Regions from separate parts of the Homo sapiens genome. Here regions 1 and 2 are each linked to region 3. Evidence: promoter capture Hi-C in 16 types of primary human blood cells and fetal thymus (Javierre and others, 2016). All regions are on one chromosome and are shown on one strand. Each heading gives the region's core, a stretch centred on a gene start or on the middle of the fragment in contact. The rest is flanking DNA. Distances are from core to core; before and after follow the strand shown. Region 1 has its middle 25 kb from the start of RPL39. Region 2 overlaps UPF3B (UPF3B regulator of nonsense mediated mRNA decay). Region 3 holds the start of NKRF (NFKB repressing factor).

Region 1 (4,170 bases), core at 560-3,059, 210 kb before region 3:
GCCGAGATTGCACCACTGCAGTCCAGCCTGGGTGACAGAGTGAGATTTGGTCTCAAAAAAAAAAAAAAAAAAGCTGGTGTTACTATTCTTCGGCCCTCCAGAAAGTCAATAAGGAGAGTTGCTCAAGCAGCTCAAAAAACTATTGCCATGACCTTTGCTCTTGGCCAGTCCAGTTTTGCTTTGACTGGATCTCTTCCACCTCTTCAGAGTCATTGCTTTGATATTGCTTTGTCTTCAGAGTCATACTGGGAAAGCCACGTATCACCTCCCGTTACACTTTCCCAATAGATGCTTCATGATCTATTGGTTGGTGCCAACGTAATTGCGGCTTTTGACATTCCATGGCATAAACCACAATTAATATGCAGCAACGTAATAGATCTCACTTGTTTAAAATTTCCGTTGAAATCTCTGTTCTTGTCTGCAGCTGATCTGGTTTTGGCACCCATCAAGTGGAAAGTTTGCTCAACTTTTAATTTTTCAGTCAGAATTGTGTAAGCTGAACCAATTGTGATGTCTATGGTGATGGCTGTTGTTTCTGCCATTAATAGTTGGTCTTAGTCTCTCACGAAGGCTGGAGGCCAGTGGCACAATCTTGGCTCACTGCAACCTCTGCCTCCCGGGTTCAATGATTCTCCTGCCTCAGCCTCCCAAGTAGTTGGAATTACAGACACCTGCCACCGCACCCAGTTAATTTTTGTATTTTTATTAGAGACAGGGTTTCACCACGTGGGCCAGGTTGGTCAGATGACCCGCCCGCCTTGGCCTCCCAGAGTGCTGGAATTACAGGGGTGAGCCACCACACCCAGCCGATGCTTTTCAGTTAAAGCACGAAGAGGATTTTTGTTGTTGTTGTTTTTTAAGACGGAGTCTCATTCTGTTGCCCAGGTTGGAGTGCAGTGGCATGATCTCAGCTCACCACAACCTCCGCCTCCTGGGTTCAAGCGATTCTCCTGCCTCGGCCTCCTGAGTAGCTGGGACCACAGGCTCATGCCACCATACCCAACTAATTTTTGTATTTTTAGTAGAGACGGGGTTTCACTATGTTGGCCAGGCTGGTCTTGAACCCCTGACCTTGTGATCCACCCGCCTCGGCCTCCCAAAGTGCTGGGATTACAGGTGTGAGCCACTGCGCCTGGCCTAATTTTTTCCCTTGCATATTGATGTGGATGACCTGCTGCTGCAGGCTTCATCTTCAACATCATTTTGTCCTTTCTTACAAGTTATCCATTTGTAAACTGCTGATCTCTTTAGGGGCATTGTCCCCATAAACTTTTGGTAAAGCATCAGTGATTTTACCGTTCTTCCACCCAAGCTTCATCTTAAATTTTATGTTTGTTCTTCCTTCAATTTTAGCAGAATCCATTTTTCGCTGATAGGAGCTCTTTTCACACTGATGCTTTCTCCTTTTTAATGCCTCAAACTAGATCCTGTCGAGATATTTTTTAACGAGTTAGTACCAGTTTATTTTGATGCCAAAAGATTTTGCAATCCATGCATAGTTTCTTGATAATACACATTTTCCATGGACTTTTTGAAGACTTCTCATATGACTGTTGATATGATTGAGCTCTGTTCCCGCACCCAAATCTCATCTTAAACTGTAATCCTCATGTGTCAAGGGAGGAGCTTGGTAGGAGGTGATTGGATTATTGGGGCAGTCTCACACATGCTGATCTTGTGATAGTGAGTAAGCCTCACAAGATCTGATGGTTTTAAACAAGGCAGTTTTTCCTATGCTCGCACTTCACCTCTAGTCTGCTGCCATGTAGCATGTGTCCACTTCCCCTTCTGCCATGATTGTAAGTTTCCTGAGGCTCCCCCAGCCATGTGGAACTGTGAGTCAATTAAACCTCTTCGGCTGGGCTTGGTGGCTCACCCCTGTAATCCCAGCTTTGGGATACCAAGGCCGGTGGATCACCTGAGGTCAGGAGTTCCAGACCAGCCAGGCAAACATGGCGAAACCCATCTCTACTAAAAATACAAAAATTAGCTGGGTGTGCTTATGCCCGCCTGTAATTCTAGCTACTCAGGAGGCTGAGGCAGGAGAAGCGCCTAAACCTGAAGGGCAGAAGTGTGGTCAGCCGAGATCGCACCATTGCACTCCAGCCTGGGCGACAAGAGCGAGACTACGTCACATATTTTATTTATTTTATAAATAAATAAAAATAAAATAAAATAATTAAACCTCTTCTCTTTATATATTACCCAGCCTTGGGTATTTTTTCTACTAGTGTGAAAACCAATTAATATAGCTGTGAAAGAAATGGAGATACATAGGTTAATGGTGTTAATGAAGCTTTATTTTAAATATGAGAAAGTAAGTAAGTTTAGAAGCCAAAAGGTAAGCTCTACAAGGATGAATACTCAAGAGAAAGAGACAACGAATACTGTAGGCTTCCTGCAAAGGCAGGTGAAAATGGAAGCCAAGGTAGAGGTTAGAGGAGTTGGCCTTAGGAGAAGCAACACTCCTGAACCCCCAGGCATGAGTTGACATCCTTGCCTCTTTGTCTAGCCTGTTTTCATGTCAGCACCTCCCTCTTCTGTTCTACTTGCCTGGCCTGTCCAGCTCTGGATAAATCACCCATCCCCACCCCACCCTCTTCAATTTCTTCCATTTGCTCATTCATTTAGCAAACATGTACCAATCACTGACTGTGTGCCAGGCCCTGGGGTCAGGGATTCAAATAAGTCCTTGTGCACGTGGAACTCATGTTTCAGTGTTGGCAAGAGGCAAATAGCAATAATCAGATCATGATGCACAATGTCAGAAGGGTCGCGGTAGCACAGGGTGTTGTGGGAGCCTCTTGCCCCTAAGCTGCAAGTGTCGCTGGAGAAAATCCCTCAAGCAGATCAATTGGTGAAACCACAGGAGAGCCTTCACTCCTGCTAAGCAATTTTTACCATCAGTCTTGAATTGATATCCTTTCCCCAGTGCCACCTTTCTTCTACTTTGCTCCCTTGCTCTCCTTTCTTGTGTTGCAGGCAAGGGGGGTGAGGACCACTTCCTCATAAAGCATAATTTCATGTCCTTAATAACTATAGGCCAGGCATGGTGGCTCATGCCTGTAATCCCAGCACTTTGGGAGGCCGAGGCAGGTGGATCACTTGAGGTCAGCAGTTGGAGATGAACCTGGCCTACGTGGTGAAACCCCGTCTCTACTAAAAATACAAAAATTAGCCGGGCTTGGTGGTGTGCACCTGTAGTCCCAGCTACTCAGCAGACTAAGGCAGGAGAATCGCTTGAACCCGGGAGGCAGAGGTTACAGTGAGCCGAGATTGCACTACTGCACTCCAACCTGGACAACCAGAGCGAAACTTCGTCTATGCAGGCAATCCTAGCATTTGGGAGGCCAAGGTGGCAGAATCATTTAACTTCAGGAGTTCAAAGCCAGCCCGGATAACATAGGGAGACCCCATCTCTATTAAAAATTTTAAAACTTAGCCCAGTGTGGTAGAGCGTGCCTGCAATTCCAGCTACTAGGAAGCTGAGGTGGGAGGATGGCTGGAGTCTGGAATGTCAAGGCTGTTGTGAGCTGCAATCTTGCCATTTGCACTTCAGCCTGAGTGACAAAATGAGACCATGTCTCTAAGAAAAATAAGTTGTACCAGGCTTATAAAATAATAATTAGGAAATGGTTGCTTTTCTTTGGAAATGGAGAGAGGAAGTGGGCAAGTTGTCATTTACCATGCCTTCACATTTTTGGTCTTAAATGACTGGACTTTAGTATATATTAATATATAAGTTATGACTTGAAAATCCCACGTAAAAGCTTAGCAGCATTGTTGTAACAGTAACATATTTCATTGTACTTCAGAATCATCCAGGGATGCAGCGTTACCATCCAGGAGCTCGAAGCCAAGGTCGACTCTCGCACCCTGATGACATAACCAAGTCTGGAGATTCAGCAGTAGAAAGAAAGCAGGAAAGTTGTATTAGCCATACAAAAGAAGAGGAGAGGCTGGGTGTGATGGTTCACGCCTGTAATCCCAGCACCTTGGGAGGCCGAGGCGGGTGGATTACCTGAGGTCAGGAGTTTGAGACCAGCCTGGTCAACATGGTGAAACCCCATCTCTACTGAAAATACAAGAACTAGCCAGGCGTGGTGCCAGGTGCCTGTAGTCCCAGGTACTCGGGAGGCTGAGGCAGGAGAATCGCTTGAACTCAGG
Region 2 (4,180 bases), core at 1,351-3,850, 230 kb before region 3:
CCTTGTGGGAGGACTAGGGATAAATACCCTGCAATATGTGCCTTTCCCTCTCACATGACTCCCGTAGTATCTTCCTGCATATATCTGGGAATCTGTGAGCAGCAGATTCGGATTCATGCATTGCATTTGGGAAGAAGAAAACCTGCAGAAAGATCCCAACCTTGCCACTTCCCTTCTAAGGGCATGGCTTGGGCAGCCCTTGTTTCAACATATTTCCTGGGGAAGTACTAGTACCTAGCACTTCAGATAAAGTCAAAGAAAATCTCACAGAGAGGGTGGCAGGGTCTCCTTATTTTATTTCCTGAAAACTCAGCAGTTTATGTAGCAAGGGTTCCCTAAGTCTCTACGGGGCTCATTACTGATGATGAGGGGCTTGGGGGAGGATGGAGTTTCTCATCTTAATTCTTTCCAGCAATCTCTCTGTCTGCTATGCCACAAGTGACTTGACTTGCTATTCCTAACAATCAGCAAGGCAGAAGGTAGAGCCAGCCATGCTAGAGACATTCATTAATGTTCTTATTAGAGTAATGAACACCTTGGTTTCTAATAAGGATGTTCATTGGAGAAATAAGAGCACTTCCAATGAAACCTGCACATGGTATCCTCATTTTACACTGGTGCCTTCTCAGTGTCCATTTTGGACTCACCATTTGCAGTGGCTGTCTGTGTGCCAAAATGCTTTGTGCTTATGTCTTGTGGTGCTTTGCCTTTTGCTTAGTAATTTACATGATGCCTTCACCCTGAGATGAACCTTGTGTGATACCTTCACTCTGAGACTTGAAATTCTTCTATTTTGCCTAAGAATCTCTCTGATTATCCGACACTTGGAGGTATTCTCGAGAGATTCATAGCAGCAATGTAAAAAACAATGGCATTTTTGAACATGCGTAAATATGGCATTAAATACAGAGTTCCTACTCAGTAGAGATGGAACTTCACTATTTGGTTGTATAAGGCCTTTAGATTTTTAAATCAAATGCCAAATAATTCTTGTTATTAATCTCTAATGGCAAGATAATTGTACCATCATAAGTATGTTATTCTCAGGCTCAAGGCAAAATTATTCCTGCAATGGATCTCTCCTTTGGTGACCAAGGTATTTGTCATTCCAAGTACTACATAAAAACAGTCCCAACAGAAACGATCTGCCTATCACTTAAAATTTGTGGGCTGTTTCCCATTAAGTTATATCAACATGCTGGTTTGCTACAGAAGCATACTTTGAAGTATGCATTGGTTCACTTAAAGGTTGACCCATTTAAAGCCAAAGGAAGCCGGGCACAGTGGCTCACACCTGTAATCTCAGCACTGTGGGAGGCCGAGGCAGAAGGATGGTGTGAGCCCAGAAGTTTGAGAACAGCCTGGGTGACATGATGAGACCTTGTCTCTACAAAAAAATTAAAAAATTAGCCATATGTGGTGGTGTGCATCTGTTGTCCTAGCTACTCAAGAGGCTGAGGCAGGAGGACCACTTAAGCCCAGGAGGTCAAGGTTGCGGTGAGCCATGTTCATGCCACTGCACTCCAGCATGGGCAACAGAGTAGTGAGACCCTGCCTCAGAATAAAAGCCAAAGGAGTCTTGATCCTATTGCCACAAAGTGATTAAACCACTTCGTTCAAGTGGATAACACTTTAACATTAATAGCATCCTTTTAGTAAATTACTACTCTTATGCACTAGTTGTTCACCTGAAAGATTAAGTGTACCTGCAGAGATAGGGGGCTTTGTCTAGTCTAAATTTTAAATATTTGGTATACTGGGTTTTTAATAGAAGATAGTGTCCCAGCCTTCAAAATAAAAATAAACATTTTATCTTTAAAGCTGCTCAAGAAGCCAGAAAAAGGAGATGAAAAAGAATTGGACAAAAGAGAAAAAGCCAAGAAATTGGACAAAGAGAATCTCAGTGATGAAAGAGCCAGTGGGCAAAGTTGTACATTGCCCAAGCGTTCTGATAGCGAACTTAAAGATGAAAAACCAAAGAGGTCAGTAGTCAAGGACTCTTTGTTATGTTTGATTTATACATGCTAGTTTTGCTGCTATGTCCTGGACATGTACCTGAATTAAGATAAGCTGTTTTATGCAGGGCAGGGGGATGAGGAGGAACAGTTTCAGAATATTCTTGTATCTTAATCTGGGTGAATGGTTTTGGGGTTTTGTTCCTTCTTAAAACACTAGTATTTTTCACTCTGCTCTAAAAGTGCAACCTCATTGCAGGGGCCAAATCAGAATCACAGTGTTCCTGCATTTGTGATTACAAGATCTTTCAGGGTTCTGTCTCAGATTTGTTTTTCATGCAGACCTGAAGATGAGAGCGGCAGAGACTATAGGGAGAGGGAACGGGAATATGAACGAGATCAGGAGCGCATACTTCGAGAAAGAGAGAGGCTGAAGCGGCAAGAAGAAGAGCGCCGTAGGCAGAAGGAGCGCTATGAGAAAGAGAAGACTTTTAAGAGAAAAGAAGAAGAAATGAAAAAAGAGAAAGACACACTTCGGGATAAAGGAAAGAAGGCTGAAAGTACAGAATCAATAGGCAGCTCAGAAAAAACTGAAAAGAAAGAAGAAGTGGTCAAGAGAGATCGAATAAGAAACAAGGTGCTGCTTGTCATTAAACTTGTTTATGAGGGTTTTTTTCCCTTTTCCTGCAAGTGTAAAGAAAGTGTAAAGGGCACTGTTATTATAGAATTTTTAAAGGGGAACTTTAATCATCTGCAACTTTTTTTTTTTTTTTTTTTTGAGACAGAGTCTGACTATGTTGCCCAGGCTGGAGTGCAGTGGCACAATCTCGGCTCACTGCAAGCTCCGCCTCCTGGGTTCACGCCATTCTTCTGCTTCAGCCTCCCAAGTAGCTGGGACTACAGGCGCCCACCACCACGCCTGACTTATTTTTTTGTATTTTTAGTAGAGACAGGGTTTCACCGTGTTAGCCAGGATGGTCTTGATCTCCTGACCTCGTGATCCACCTGCCTCAGCCTCCCAAAGTGCTGGGATTACAGGCGTGAGCCACCACGCCTGACCAACTTTTATTTCAGTCTTGGCTGGGCTTTTATTAACTTACTATAGAAATTGTAAACATACACAAAAGTAGAATAGAGAATAGTATGATGGGCCAGGTGCAGTGGCTCACACCTGTAATCCTAGCACTTTGGGAGGCTGAGGTGGGTGGATTGCTAGAGCCTAGGAGTTCTAGACCAGCCTGGCCAACATGGTGAAACCCCGTCTCTACTAAAAATACAAAAAATCGGCTGGATGTGGTGGCGCACACCTGTAATCTCAGCTACTCGGGAGGCTGAGGCAGAAGAATCACTTGAACCTGGGAGGTGGAGGTTGAGGTGAGCCGAGATCACGCCATTGTATTCTAGCCTGGGCAACAGAGCGAGACTCAGTCTCAAAAAAAAAACTGGCCGGGCGCGGTGGCTCACGCCTGTAATCCCAGCACTTTGGGAGGCCAAGACGGGTGGATCACGAGGTCAGGAGATCAAGACCATCCTGGCTAACATGGTGAAACCCCATCTCTACTAAAAATACAAAAAATTAGCCAGGCGTGGTGGCGGGCGCCTGTAGTCCCAGCTACTCGGGAGGCTGAGGCAGGAAAATGGCGTGAACCTGGGAGGCGGAGCTTGCAGTGAGCCGAGATCGCGTCACTGCACTCCAGCACGGGCAACAGAGCGAGACTCTGTCTCAAAAAAAAAAAAAAAATCGAATAGTATGATGAACTCCATGTACTGTACCCATCACCCAGCAGTTCATAGCCAACCTTCTTTCTATTCTACTTCATCCCTACCCCTACTAGATTATTTTCAAACAAACCCTGCACATAATTTCTTCCTTAAATACTTCAGTATATGAGATAAATACTCTATTAATATTACCCTAGTAGCATTTTCACACCAAAAAAAACTAACAATAATTCCTTAACGTCCTGTCTATTCAGTGTTCATATGTTCCCAATTGCTTCATTAATGTCTTTTTAAAATTAATTAATTATTTATTTTTTGCGATGGAGTCTCGCTCTGTCATCTAGGCTGGAGTGCAGTGGCATGATCTCAGCTCACCACAACCTCCACCTCCCGGGTTCAAGTGATTCTCCTGCCTCAGCCTCCCGAATAGCTGAGACTACAGCCTCAAGCCACCATGCCCGGCTAATTTTTGTATTTTTAGTAGAGACAGGGTTTCACCATGT
Region 3 (4,051 bases), core at 1,535-4,034:
AATCCAATTTCAAAAGTCAGATTACAATTATTTGTTTCTATACAACGGAAAAGTTTTAATCCAGGCTGAGAGGAAGTAGTTTATCTTTTCACAGATTGTTTTCTAGGAAAGATGTATATTTATTACAATGCGGATTTTGGTGAAAGTTGGCAACTTAGGCTATGTCTTAGTCCATTTATGCTGCTATAACAAGATACTGAGACCTGAGACTTATAAAGAATATATATTTATTTCTCAGAGTTCCAGAGCCTGGGAAATCCAAGATTAAGGCACCAGAAGGTTCAGTTGTCTGGTTGGGGCAGCTCTCTGCTCTCTGCTTCCAAGATGGTGCCTTGTTGCTGCATCCTCCAGCAACAAGGGGAGAGGAGTGTTATATCCGCACATGGCAGAAGGCAAAGGGCAAGTGACCAAACACCGATTAAAGCCTCTTTCATTAGGTCCTTAATCCCATTCCTGAGGGAGGAGCTCTCATGGCTTAATGACCTCTTAAAGGTCCCACCTTTTAATACCATCACATCAGCCATTAAGTTTCAACACTTAAATTTTGAAGGGGACACACTCAAACAATAGCAGGCTGAAATTAATCTAATTATAAAATAACAAATCAGCTTAAAATGTAGGCTCCAAGGAAATGATTTTCACTGGGTTGAGACAAAAGGAAGAGCTTCATTCATTTATGCATTTAATTCAACAAATATCTCTGGAGTGCCTGCAGGATCAAGGTATAGGTGCTAAGACCAAAACAGATGAGTTCCATGCTTTCATGTAACTGACATTCCAGTGGAATACAGCAAGAATACAAAAAGGAAAGAAAGTGGTTTTTCTCTGTTGTCCTGAAATTGATTACAAGCTGGGTAGGGAGAAATAGCCCTATGTAAAACTAAATGTGCCACCAGCAGTAGGACCACTGGATGAGGTGGCTTTGACTCAGTGCCCTCTTTAACTCTCTAATGACATATTTCTAACTATATGACACCTTATGCGTAGGGGTGTATTGGACTGAGAAGAGCAGAAGATAACAGCACTTTTCAGTTTCAGAATTCTGTATTTCCATGTCTGTCTTTCTCTATGGTGGGCATTCATGTTTATTGAGGTAATGTTAGTCTCTAAACCATCAAATCAAAGAATATAGTACTACGAAGGAAGGTTAGAGATAATAAATTCAAGTAATGATTGTACGAGTGAGAAAAATAAGGCCACAGAGGTGAAGTGTCTTGCCGAAGGCTGTAGAGATAGTTGTTGGCAATGATGAGATGAGAATTTAGGTCACCTGACTCCTCATCTAGTGTTCCCCCAGTCATTTGCCTTTGCACTGCTCTGTTTTCTTTCTTTCTTTTTTTTTTGAAACAGAGTCTCACTCTGTTGCCCAGGCTGGAGTGTAGTGGCGCGATATTGGCTCACTGCAACCTCTGCCTCCCGGGTTCAAGCGATTCTCCTGCCTCAGCCTCCGGAGTAGCTGGGATTACAGGCGCCTGCCACCACGCCCGGCTAATTTTTGTATTTTTAGTGGAGACAGGGGTTTCACCATGTTGGCCAGGCTGGTCTCGAACTCCTGACCTCAAGTAATCCTCCTGCCTCGGCCTCCCAAAGTGCTGGGATTACAGGCGTGAGCCACCGCACCCAGCCTGTTTTATTTTCTTCACAGCATGTATCACCTTGTGAACTTTTTAAAAACATTTCGATTGTTACCCCAATAAACATGAATGCCCACCACGGAGAAAGACAGACGTGGAAATAAATTATGAAAGTGTGTAAAGTGCTGTTATCTTCTGCTCCTCTCAGTCTAATACACCCCTAACATAAAGTGTCATATAATTAGAAATACGTCATTAAAGAGTTAAAGATGGTAGTGTGTTAAAGCCACCTCATCCAATGGTCCGGCTCCTGGTGGAACATTTAGTTTTATGCAGGGCTATTTCTCCCCACCAAGATTGTAGTCAATTCCAGGACAACAGAGAAAACCCACTTTCTTTCCTTCTTTTTTGTACTCTTGCTGTATTGAGCACACAGTAGGTGCTGTGTAAATTCCCGCCGACAGACACTCATTGATTAACTGCTTTCGTGACACAGGTTGGCAGATAGGGACTGAAGTTATTGAGTGAAGCTGACTCCGGGTGGAGTGATACATTTGGCTACAGTGATTGAGCGGCTCTACCTTGCAGTACCCTCTTCTGTGGGCCCCTTTTGTATCTTGTAATCTTTTGCACTTAAGTTGATACGTGAAATACAGACTTGCAATCGTGATCAGAACTGTGTAAACAGTATCTGTGTTCGTAATTGGGATACAGTATGGACTTGAAACTGGCTAACTTGAGAAGCGGCGCTGTGGATGATTTTCTTGGCAAGTGTTTCATTTTTACTACGTTTCCGCAGTAAGCTATTACACAAAGCTAATGATGCACGATGCACAGAGCATTTCAAGCTACTCTCTGAAGAAAAGGCACCTCGGGGAGCTGACTGTTTTGTTTTGTTTTAATGTAAAGTCCAGTGCAGACCTAAATCCCTTACAAGGAACATGGTCTCACTGTCGCGCCGCTTAAAAATCCAGGGAAAAGCGTCAGACGAGCCGTGGGCTACCAACATTCATCTGAGGGCACCTTCTAACCATATTCTCGAACCTCAGAGAACCTTCCTAAATTCCCTTTCTGGAGTCCCCGCCCTCCGCTTGTCACCGTAGTGCGTCAAAGGCCCGTAGTCGTCACTGGAGGGAAAAAAGTACGTCGCGCGAGATTCTGCGACGGGATTTGGAAGTTAGGGAACAGCCGCGGCGCAAGCGCACTGGCCTCACAACCCCGGACGGCACGCGGGTAGGTAGGCTAGAACCTAGAGGAGGGGAGCAGAGCGTGCTGGGGTCTTTTATCGCTCTCCGCGCAGTGCGTGGGTCTGCGGATCCGTGGAGGTGCGGAGCCTGACTCGGCCTCCCCGGCTCGCGCGTGAGTGCGGCGGAAGCCCTTCTGCTCCTCCACGAGTTAGAGGAGTGTAGGGGACGTGCATCCCAGTGTCGGGACGCGAGCTCGTGCTCCTCTTTTCCTCCTAACGGTGGCCCCCACGCACACACTCCAGTCCCCCCGAGAGTTGATCTTCTCCCCTCAGCGCGCCCCTCCTTACCCGGCCCCTCCCACCGGCCCCCCGTTTCCGCCCGCTTGCTAGCTGCCTAGCTCGCGGTCCGTAGTCGGCTTCGTCCCTGGGGTCCCTGCTTGGGGGCGGAGAAGATGGCTGGAGGACGTCTGCTGTTGGGGGGCGACTTCCTGTCGCGCCGCCGCTGCCCCCCCTCCCGCCGCCGCCGCTGCCGCCCCTCCCGCCGCCCCCGCCCGAGCCAGTGCTGGAGCAGTGGCGCTATAGCCACGAAAGTGACTGGCAGTGGGCTCTGCGGCGCAGCTTCATCTGTCGGCACCTGCACAGCTATCCCGGGGCTGCCCTCGACCAGCTCCTCGCGCTCTCCGCCGCCTGGACCAACCACGTCTTCCTGGGCTGCAGGTGAGGAAGGTGTGGGTGTCGGGTTAGGGACGGGGGTGAGAGATCGGTGATGGGGGATCGGGTTAGGGACGGCGCTGGAGGGATCGATGATGGTGGTTGGGATAGGGACGGGGGCGGGATGCGGAGGATAGGTTGGAGGCTGGAGATTTGGAGGTGCTGGAGGGCACTAGAGGGATCACTATTGGCCTGGGGGTGGGGTGGCCGACTGTGGTGGCTGGGCATGACATAACAGCTAGGAGGGTGCAGAGATCGCGGAAGCGGCCTCTCCAGGACCAGGGATGGAGATGAAGCAGCGCCTAGAAGAGGATTATTGAGAGGTGGTCATTGTAGTTGGTGGCGGTATTAGAGGACGTGGGGAATGATGAATAGCAGCATCTCGGACCTGCGTAGGGCCTTCCAAGGATGCAGTATCCGCAGAGAATATATTCGACAGTTGGAGTTGTGGGGGAAGGGCGAGGGGACCCCACTGTTCTAGTCTCCTCCTGACCACTCTCTTTTTCCATTCCTCTTAAATACCCCCCTCTACTTGCAGCCCCCTAGCAGGGTCTTACTGTCTTCTCCTGGGGAGGCGGTA

Evidence for each region. Contacts are between HindIII fragments. The CHiCAGO score rates a contact against its expected background, and 5 or more counts as called.
Region 1: a fragment that was not itself captured here is called in contact with the fragment with the promoter of NKRF in region 3 in 1 of 17 cell types (fetal thymus); the score reaches 5.1 in fetal thymus.
Region 2: a fragment that was not itself captured here is called in contact with the fragment with the promoter of NKRF in region 3 in 1 of 17 cell types (neutrophils); the score reaches 5.5 in neutrophils.

The regions. Positions count from the first base shown.
Region 1 is chrX:119,814,956-119,819,125 of GRCh38, reverse strand. It overlaps a transcript of UPF3B not described here. Among named protein-coding and RNA genes, the nearest start is that of RPL39, 25 kb to the right of the region's middle. The HindIII fragment of the contact is 984 bases long and covers 1,318-2,301 here.
Region 2 is chrX:119,836,169-119,840,348 of GRCh38, reverse strand. It overlaps UPF3B (UPF3B regulator of nonsense mediated mRNA decay), which reads left to right. Exons shown (of 11, transcript NM_080632.3): 9 at 1,822-1,982; 10 at 2,298-2,592. Among named protein-coding and RNA genes, the nearest start is that of UPF3B, 15 kb to the left of the region's middle. The HindIII fragment of the contact is 5,356 bases long and covers 1-4,180 here.
Region 3 is chrX:119,605,157-119,609,207 of GRCh38, reverse strand. It overlaps NKRF (NFKB repressing factor), which reads left to right and starts at 2,784. Exons shown (of 4, transcript NR_163972.1): 1 at 2,784-3,477. RefSeq lists an enhancer at 2,551-2,660 and a silencer at 3,201-3,250. The HindIII fragment of the contact is 11,769 bases long and covers 1-4,051 here.